Regions from separate parts of the Homo sapiens genome. Here regions 1 and 3 are each linked to region 2. Evidence: promoter capture Hi-C in 16 types of primary human blood cells and fetal thymus (Javierre and others, 2016). All regions are on one chromosome and are shown on one strand. Each heading gives the region's core, a stretch centred on a gene start or on the middle of the fragment in contact. The rest is flanking DNA. Distances are from core to core; before and after follow the strand shown.

The links. The method cuts DNA at HindIII sites, captures the fragments that hold promoters and counts their contacts. A CHiCAGO score of 5 or more calls a contact.
Region 1: a contact is called between a fragment that was not itself captured here and the fragment with the promoter of TMEM131 in region 2, in 1 of 17 cell types (M2 macrophages). The highest score is 5.1, in M2 macrophages.
Region 3: a fragment that was not itself captured here is called in contact with the fragment with the promoter of TMEM131 in region 2 in 2 of 17 cell types (M1 macrophages and M2 macrophages); the score reaches 5.5 in M1 macrophages.

What each region holds. Positions count from the first base shown.
Region 1 is chr2:98,256,609-98,259,308 of GRCh38, forward strand. All of the region lies in intron 21 of VWA3B (von Willebrand factor A domain containing 3B), which reads left to right. Among named protein-coding and RNA genes, the nearest start is that of CNGA3, 88 kb to the right of the region's middle. The HindIII fragment of the contact is 8,873 bases long and covers 1-2,700 here.
Region 2 is chr2:97,994,499-97,997,198 of GRCh38, forward strand. It overlaps TMEM131 (transmembrane protein 131), which reads right to left and starts at 1,450. Exons shown (of 41, transcript NM_015348.2): 1 at 978-1,450. The coding sequence starts at 1,164. RefSeq lists silencers at 740-1,299, 1,410-1,659 and enhancers at 1,196-1,709, 1,880-2,159. The HindIII fragment of the contact is 7,821 bases long and covers 1-2,700 here.
Region 3 is chr2:98,279,010-98,281,709 of GRCh38, forward strand. All of the region lies in intron 22 of VWA3B (von Willebrand factor A domain containing 3B), which reads left to right. Among named protein-coding and RNA genes, the nearest start is that of CNGA3, 66 kb to the right of the region's middle. RefSeq lists an enhancer at 1,192-1,692. The HindIII fragment of the contact is 262 bases long and covers 1,122-1,383 here.

The DNA.
Region 1 (2,700 bases), core at 55-2,554, 260 kb after region 2:
CTTCCGCTTTTTCGCTATCATGAACTATGTTGCTATATGCATTTGTGTAGAAGTTTCTTTGTGGACATATGTTTTCATTTCTCTTGGGTATATACCTAGCAGTGGATTTGCTTGTCACATGGTAATTCTATGCTTAACTTTTTGAGGAACCACCAAACTGTTTTTCCACAGTGGCTATGCCATTTTTAGAACATATCTATTTATTTTTATTGACCCATAATAATTGTACATATTTTGGGGTACATGTGATATTTTGATACTTGCACACATGTAATGATCAAATCAGGATGTTTAGACTATCTATCACCTCAAACATTTATTATCCCTTTGTGTTGGGAACATTTCAAGTTGTCTCTTTTAGCTATTTTGAAATATACAGTAAATTATTGTTAACTATGGTCTCCCTACTGTGTTGTCAAGTGTTAGAACTTTTTCCTTCTACCTAACTGTATGTTTGTGTCCAATAGTCAAACCTCTCTTCATCTCCCCCACCTCCACACACACTCTTCCCTGCCTCTGGTAACTATGATTCTATTTTCTGCCTCCATAAGATCAACTTTTTTTTGTTTTTAGCTCCTACAGATGGGTGAGAACTATTTGTCTTTCTGTGCCGGGCTTATCTCACTTAATATCATGACCTCCAAATGATATTAAGTGCTGCAAATGATATTAAGTTGCTGCAAATGATAGGATTTTGTTCCTTTTTTTGGCTGAATAGTATTCCATTGTGTATATATACCACATTTTCTTTATCCATCCATCCGTTGATGGATACTTAGTTTGTTTGATTCCATATCTTGCTGCAATAAACATGAGGGTGCAGGTGTCCCTATGATACATATTGATTTACTATCTTTGGATAAATATCCAGTAGTGAGATTGCTGGATCATGTGGTAGGTTCTCATTGCTCCACATCCTCATGAACACTTGACATTTTCCTTTTCTTTTTTTTTTTAAGTCATTCTCATGGGTGTGAAAGGCTATTCTGCTGTGGTTTTGATACACATTTTCTTAATGACCAATGATGTTAAACATCTTTTCATGTGCTTGTTGTCCATTTGTATATCTTCTTTGGAGAAATGTTTATTCAAGTTCTTTGTCCATTTTCCAATTGGGTTGTGTTTTTGTTGTATAACTTCTGAGGATTAAGTCATTATCAGATATCTGATTTGTCAGTATTTTCTCCCATGCTATGGGTTATCTTTTCGTATTCTTCATAATGTCCTTGGAGGTCCAAAAGTTTTTAAGTTTTAGGAAGTGAATTCTTCTTTTTTTTTCTTTTGTTTGTGTTTTTGGTGTCAAATCTAAGAATCCATTGCCAAATACAAAATCATGAGCATTTATCCTTTTGTTTTCTTCTAATATGTTTACAGTTTTAGGTCTTACATTTGGACTTTTGATCCATTTTTGAGGGACTTTTTGTATCTGGTGTGAAGTAGGGTTCCAACTTCATTCTTTTTCATGTAAATATCCAGTTTATCCAGCACTATTTGTTTAAGAGACTATTCTTTCCCTTTGAATGGTCTTGGCACCCTTGTCAAAAATCATCTGACCATAAATGTTTGGGTTTATTTCTGGACTCTCTATTCTATTCCACTGGTCTATATATGACTATATTTATGCAAGTTGACACTGTTTTAATTATTGTAGATTTGTATTCAGTTTTGAAATTAGGAAATATGAGTCCTTCAACTTTGTTCTTCTATTTCAAAATTGTTTGGGCTATTCAGGGCCCCTTGAAGTTTTGTATACATTTGAGGATTGGCTTTTCTATTTCTGAAAAAAAAATTGGAATTTTTGTAGGGATTATATTTAATCTAAAGATTGCTTTGAAGAGTATTACCATTTTAACAATATTGTTTTCCAATCAATGAACATAGAATGTCTTTCCATTTATTTAGTGGATCTTTAATTCCTTCAGCAATGTTATATAGTTTTCAGTATACCTGCCTTTCACATCCTCTGTTATTTTGTTCTTTTGGGTGCTATTATAAATGGGATTGTTTTCTTAACTTCATTTTCAGATTGTTCATTGCTGGTACATAAAAACACAGCTGAATTTTGTATTTTGACTTTGTACCTTGCAACTTTGCTGAATTTATTGGTACTAGTGGCTTTGTGGGGAATCTATGGGGTTTTCTATATATAGAAACATATCATCTGCAAGTAGAAATAATTTTACTTCTTTCTTTCTAATTTGGATGCCTTTTATTTCTTTTTCTTACCTAATTGATCTAGCTAGTACTTCCAGAACAACATTGAATAGCAGTGGTGAAAGGGGACGTTCTTGTCTTGTTCCTGATCCCAGTGAGAAAGAAAGGAAGTTCCCTATATTCCTAGTTTCCTGATTGTTTTTATCATGAAAAGTGTGTGTTAAATTTTGTCAAGTGCTTTTTTCTGTATCTATTGAAATGATCATGGATTTTTCCCTTTGCTCTACTAATGTGATGTATTAAATCATGTGATTTTCTTGGGTTGAACCACTCCTGCATTTCTGGCATAAATCCTACTTAGTCATGGTGTATAATCCTTTTAATGTCCTTTTGGATTTGATTTGCTAGTGTTTTATTAAGAATATTTATGTCCATATTTATAAAGAAAATGGTCTGTAGTTTTCTTTGACATGTTTGTCTGGCCTTGGTATCAGGGTAATTCTCTTCTTGCTGACTGTTAAGAAGTATTCCCTCATCCATTTTTTG
Region 2 (2,700 bases), core at 200-2,699:
TAAAGTAGAATGTTAACTCTAAAATTACCGTGGCAAGAAATTGTTTTCTTGTACAGGCAGTTTCATGTGCAATGCTAAACTAACAAGTTTTGCGTGGTTTGTTTTTTTTTTAAACTATTCACTTAGTCAATTCTTCATGAAGGCTCTGTGACCATTCACATGTCCCTTGGCTCAAAAAGAGGTAGTGTAGATGAAATTACACTGATTTGGTCTTCAAGATTACAAAATAATTTTTGACCCTGTCCAAGTACCCGTTTTGCAGCAGTACAATACTAATGAGATTTTTAAAATAGGGGCCAGCCCTTAACTGTAAATTATAGATAAATGCTTGCAAGCTGGCAACTTCACGTTTATTTTTAAAGGCTTTCACATCAAAGATAAAGGCACCGAATCACGTATTTTAAAATAAGAAATGTAAACAGGCTTTCAACAGCTTACTAAAGAGTTAAATGGAATTGTATTTAGGTCTAATAATAAAGTTATCAATAACGCAGAGACACTAAAGGAGGAAGCTACAGGACCAAGATTTCCCCTCGAAGAAATGTCTGAACAAATTCAAAGTGAAATTTTTTAAGCTGTGTCTCGCTATTTTTACCACATTTTAAAGTAAGCTCTGTCTGCATGCAACCAACCGCAACCAAGAAAACAGAAGTGTCCTAAAATGTACCTATTCGCCGCAATAAAGCCAAAAAATATGCCCCTCCTACCTAGCGGGCCAAGTGGCAAGAACGTACGAGAAGTCAGGAAGTTTTGAAATGGCAGTGACAGGAGACGGGGGAAGGCACGGGAAGGAATCACGGAGAGCGAAGGCCACTCCGTGCGGCGGGCGCCGCGAGGTCCCGGCTCGGGACGGTACCCGACCGCCCAACTTTGCGCCGGAGCCCCGGCCGCGGCCCTTCCTCCCGGCCCAGCCCTCCCGGCCTCCGCGAGAGCGGGGTGACAGCCCCGCCGCAGGGACGCCGCCGGGGGACACCCACCTTCCTTCTCGGCCCGCGCCGCAGCCACTACGAGGGTCATCACCAGGTGCAGCGCGCCTAGGAGGCCGGCGGCCGCGCTCCGCGGGCCCCCGCTACGGGCGGCCGCAGGTTCCAGCCCGGCCCCGGCGGACGTGGAGACGGCGGCGGTGGTGGCTCCGGTTGCTCCTCCTCCCGCCCGCTTCCCCATCCCTGCCGGCCGGGGGCCGCCGCGCTCGAGGTCCGGCGCGGCCCTTCTCGGCGAGGCGGCGGCGGCGCGGAAGCCGTGGTCCGGGCTCTGGCCGCGGCGCCGGGAGCGACAACGGTTGCGAGCCCGGGGCTCGATCTCCGAGCGTGGGCCTGGGTCCGTGCGTGCGTGTGAGCGAGAGTGTCAGTCACGGTCTTTGCCTGGGCATCGCCTACAAGCAGTCGGAGCGGAGAGGCCGCGGGTCAGGCGCGGCGGGCGGCCATACTGGAAACGGGCACGGCCCGCGAGCCCTGAGCGCTGGCCTGCGAGGGGCGGGGCGCGGCTCTGGGCACCGCCCACGCTGTGCCGACACCTGGGCTGTCCGGCGGTCAGTCTGTCCGCCCCGGAGCCCCCTGGGCCCCACCTCCTCGTCCCGCTCTCGGAGGCCTGCGGCTTCACGGCCAGACAGAACCAGGACAGAACAACCCCAGCCCGTTACCGCTACCTGGCGCAGGAGAAGGAGGGAGGCAGGCCCAGGTCCAGCTGCCAGGACTTATGATGGCGGCTTCTGCTTCGCGGAGGCGGTGTCGGCAATCACGTGGAGACGGGGCGGCCTCGCCGCGCAGCCGCCGCGTTGCGTGGGCGGGGCAGGGGCGGAGTTGCGGGGCGCTAACCTCTTCTCCGGCGCCTGGGCAATCCTCCGTGCTCTGTCCTACAGTGGTAGAGCCTTCCAGGGGTGTGAGTGCGCATACAGACCGCGAGACGAGCGCGGAAGGTCCGTTCCAGTGACTCTTCCTGGTGGCACCCCCACCTCTCGACCGCTTTGACGTCGAGAATACCCCGGGCCTGACTCAGTTCTTGATGGTGCTTCCTTGAGGATGGTGGCCCGCTGAACTCATCCTTGGGTCTTCCAAATCATGGTACCCAGGAGGAGCTTGATGGAGTCCTCTTGCCTTGGCTTGTGCCCACATTGGCGCGGAACACCTCGTGTGCAGAAAGCGTCGGTGACTCTGGATGGAGAAGGCAGGGGCAAACAGACTGCTCTTTAGAATATCCAGTAGCCGGCTTCCTCTCTCGAGGAAGAATTCTTTTTTTTCTTTTCTTTATTTTTTAATTATTTATTTATTTTTGAGACAGGGTCTGGTTCTGCCGCCCAGGCTGGAGTGCAGTGGTGCGGTCTGGGACTACAGGCACCCGCCACCACGCCACGCCAATTTTTCTTTTTCTTTTAAGAAACGCTGTCTCACTATGTTGGCCGAGCAGGTCTCGAACTCCTGGGCTCAAGCAGTCCGCCTTCCTCGGCCTTCCAGAGTGCTGGGATCACAGGCGTGAGCCACTGTGCTGGGCCCGGAAAAATTCTTAAGACGTCTGTTACCTTCACGAGCCATCTCGCGCCTCTTAGATGCCCTTTTCATCTTAGGTTGAGCTTCTTGGTGCGCATGGCTGTTGTCTCCAAGACTTAATTTAAGCTCTTGGAGGGGGTCCTTCTTTACTCATCTTAGTAACTTCCTCCCAGCTTGTAGCCCAGAGACATTTTACTTTCCTTAGCTGTATTTGTTG
Region 3 (2,700 bases), core at 3-2,502, 280 kb after region 2:
GCATCTGGAAGTGGGACCCCTGATGGGCCTCCAGGGCATGTGGCCAGAGTGAAGCTGAAATCCCAGAGGCAGTGAGAGGATGACAAAGAGAAAATGAAGCCCTTCATTACTGTGCCACGTTTATCTAGGGGTTAGATGGGGCTTTAAGGAGAGAATCCTGCTCAGAAACACCAGTCACTGGAGGAAACTGAAAGAAGGGGGAAAATATCCCCAAACTCTATTTTCTAAGAAGTCTTCTGTCTCATGTCCTGATGTTCAGGAATGGGAAGGTGGGTGTCAACTCTGGGGATCCCTGAGGTGACAAAAACTTAGAACCAGGCTGTCTTTTCATTCTGAAGCTAAAGGCACCCTCCTCGCTGGAGATTCGGCTGGGCAGATGCCAGCACTCTCCTGCCTCTACATTTGTCTTTGTTCCCAACCATGAATTCTACCCAAGCACCCTAAACAGATCTGGGGACAGATTTGCCCTCCCTGTCTGGAGGAAGAAAACGGAGTGTAGAGGGCTTAGCAGGGGCCACTCAGGAAGCAGAATCCAATTCATTCAGCACAAGTGAAGAAACGTTAATGAAGGAACTCTTTGCAGAAGTGAAGGTCAGTCTAAGGCAGTCCGTGGGATATTGCAGGACCCCAGGACAAGCAATAGCAGGAAGCTGTTATCATCCCCAGACTTAAAGGGGCAAGGGAAGGAAAGCGTGTTCCTGGAGCCCTAGAGAGAAAGAGCAGGGAGTGGGCAGGACACCAATACCCCGGCTTCCTCCTGCCTTCTGAGCTTGGCGCGTGCCTCAAGACAGCAAAAATTAGGGAGATAGGGTGGTGTGTTCCCTGGGGGCCAGCCTCTGGGGGTACAGAGCAGGGCAAGGAAGGGCAGAGAGCAAGGGGGATGCGTGAGTGGGGGCGGAATAGCCAGCCCAGAGGAGTGGATGTCTTGAAAAGTTTTCTTAAAGACTCAGAATTCATTTGCACACCAGTCTCGTGTGAGATGTTTGTGTAAAGTAGGTGGCTGGTAGTGGTTCATACGTCAAGGCAGTGCCACGAAAGTGGCTCCCAAGTGTGGCTTTTGTTCATCTCCGGAGTAGCGGGAAATGAATAACTGTATCAGGAACGCGAAATTACAAATCCCAAGCTTTGGTGATTTCCAGATATAAATATGTAACACACTTCAAATTTTTCTCTCTTTGTTTGTTTGTGTGTTTTTTCCTAAAAGAGCAATAAGGGAATATTTCCTGAGATGACGTTGCAGGTTTACTTTCAAGATAGGGAAATAGTTTTGGATTTTTTTGTTTTTCTGTTTGGAATATAGTATATGTTTATTAGATTCCTTTGCTGCCACAAAGAAAAGAAAGAGAGAGAGAGAAAAAAAACACACAAGTTTATTTTCAGCAAAGCTTTGAGGTAGCTATTTGTTAATGTTTGACTGGAGGTTTTGCTTTCAGGGTGATTAACTGTTCTCCACACCCCGGTGCTGCCCTGGGGTCAGGGAGGGGAAGGAATGTTTCCTGGTTCGGGGATCTGTCTGTGGAAGTGTTTCTTGTGCCTCTTAGCCATTCGCACGGCACAAAGCGCTACCAGCTGGGATGAGGCTGAGGCCAGACCGCTCACCAGGCCTGTGCCGGGCTCAGGAAGCAGCGCCTGGAGAGGGAGGTGGAAACTGCACTGGGGTTTTGGGATGCGTGTTACTGGCTGTGTGTTTTCACGAGTTATGCTATGCCCTGGGGAGGCGGGGGAAAACCTCACAAAGCACTCCTCTACATCCCTTTGGTTTTTAAGGCAAGGCTAAGTGCCTAAGACTACTGGAAAGGAAGGGGATCAAAACCCCCTTAAGCCTTGGCCGGCCAGGCAGCACTGCCAGCTTTCCCTTGAGCCCCCGCCCAGATGTGCCGTACTTGATAGCAGCTCACAAGAAGACCTTGCTGCTTCTTCAGGGCTCATGCAGGAAATTCCACTTAGAGCTTCACTTCTTTAGCACAATATTTGCCTTCTGTTAAAGTGCAAATGCCCTGGGAAGGAAGGCACTAATTCGTTTGCCATGGGCCACTCGCTCCCCGCCCCGGAGATGCTGGGCAGGAGTTTGCCACTCCTGATTTCTATTTTCCTGTAAGCTCTTTTCTCATTCTCTCTCCAGTCCATTTTTCAAAGGGATGCAGAGTCTGGATACTTTCTGGGTGGATGAAATCCCTCTAAATCTAAATGAGCGGGGAGAGAGTGAGTTCCCAAACGCTTCAGGTTAGCCCTGTCCTGTTCACCAAGGTTTTAAAGGGAGTTGAATTATTCACAGAGACAGTTTGCAAATGTCCCGGTCTTTTAATTAAGTGTCCTAGAAAGGGGAAAGGTCAGCACCTGTCTGAACCTACACACATTCCTTTGATTAGAGCAGTGACAGACTTTACATGGCCTTAAGGACAAACGTGGACAAAGAAGCATGTTGGAGCTGCTGTTACGACAATTAGGGGATTGTATATGCTGGAGTTCAATGATTTAGGGCAGGAAAAGTATTTAGTAGTGGGTGTTTTTAACAAGATTTTGAGCCAAAGATTAGTTCTAGTTAATTTGTAGAAATGTGTTCTGTACCTAGTGTAGAAGTATGCTGCTTGTTACATGGAAAATTTTAAAGCATCAAACCTTTAGTCATTTCACTATCTCCACCACCATGTCCAAGAGCATGACCTTGAAATTAAGTCACGAAATGAAAAGAGGGTCACA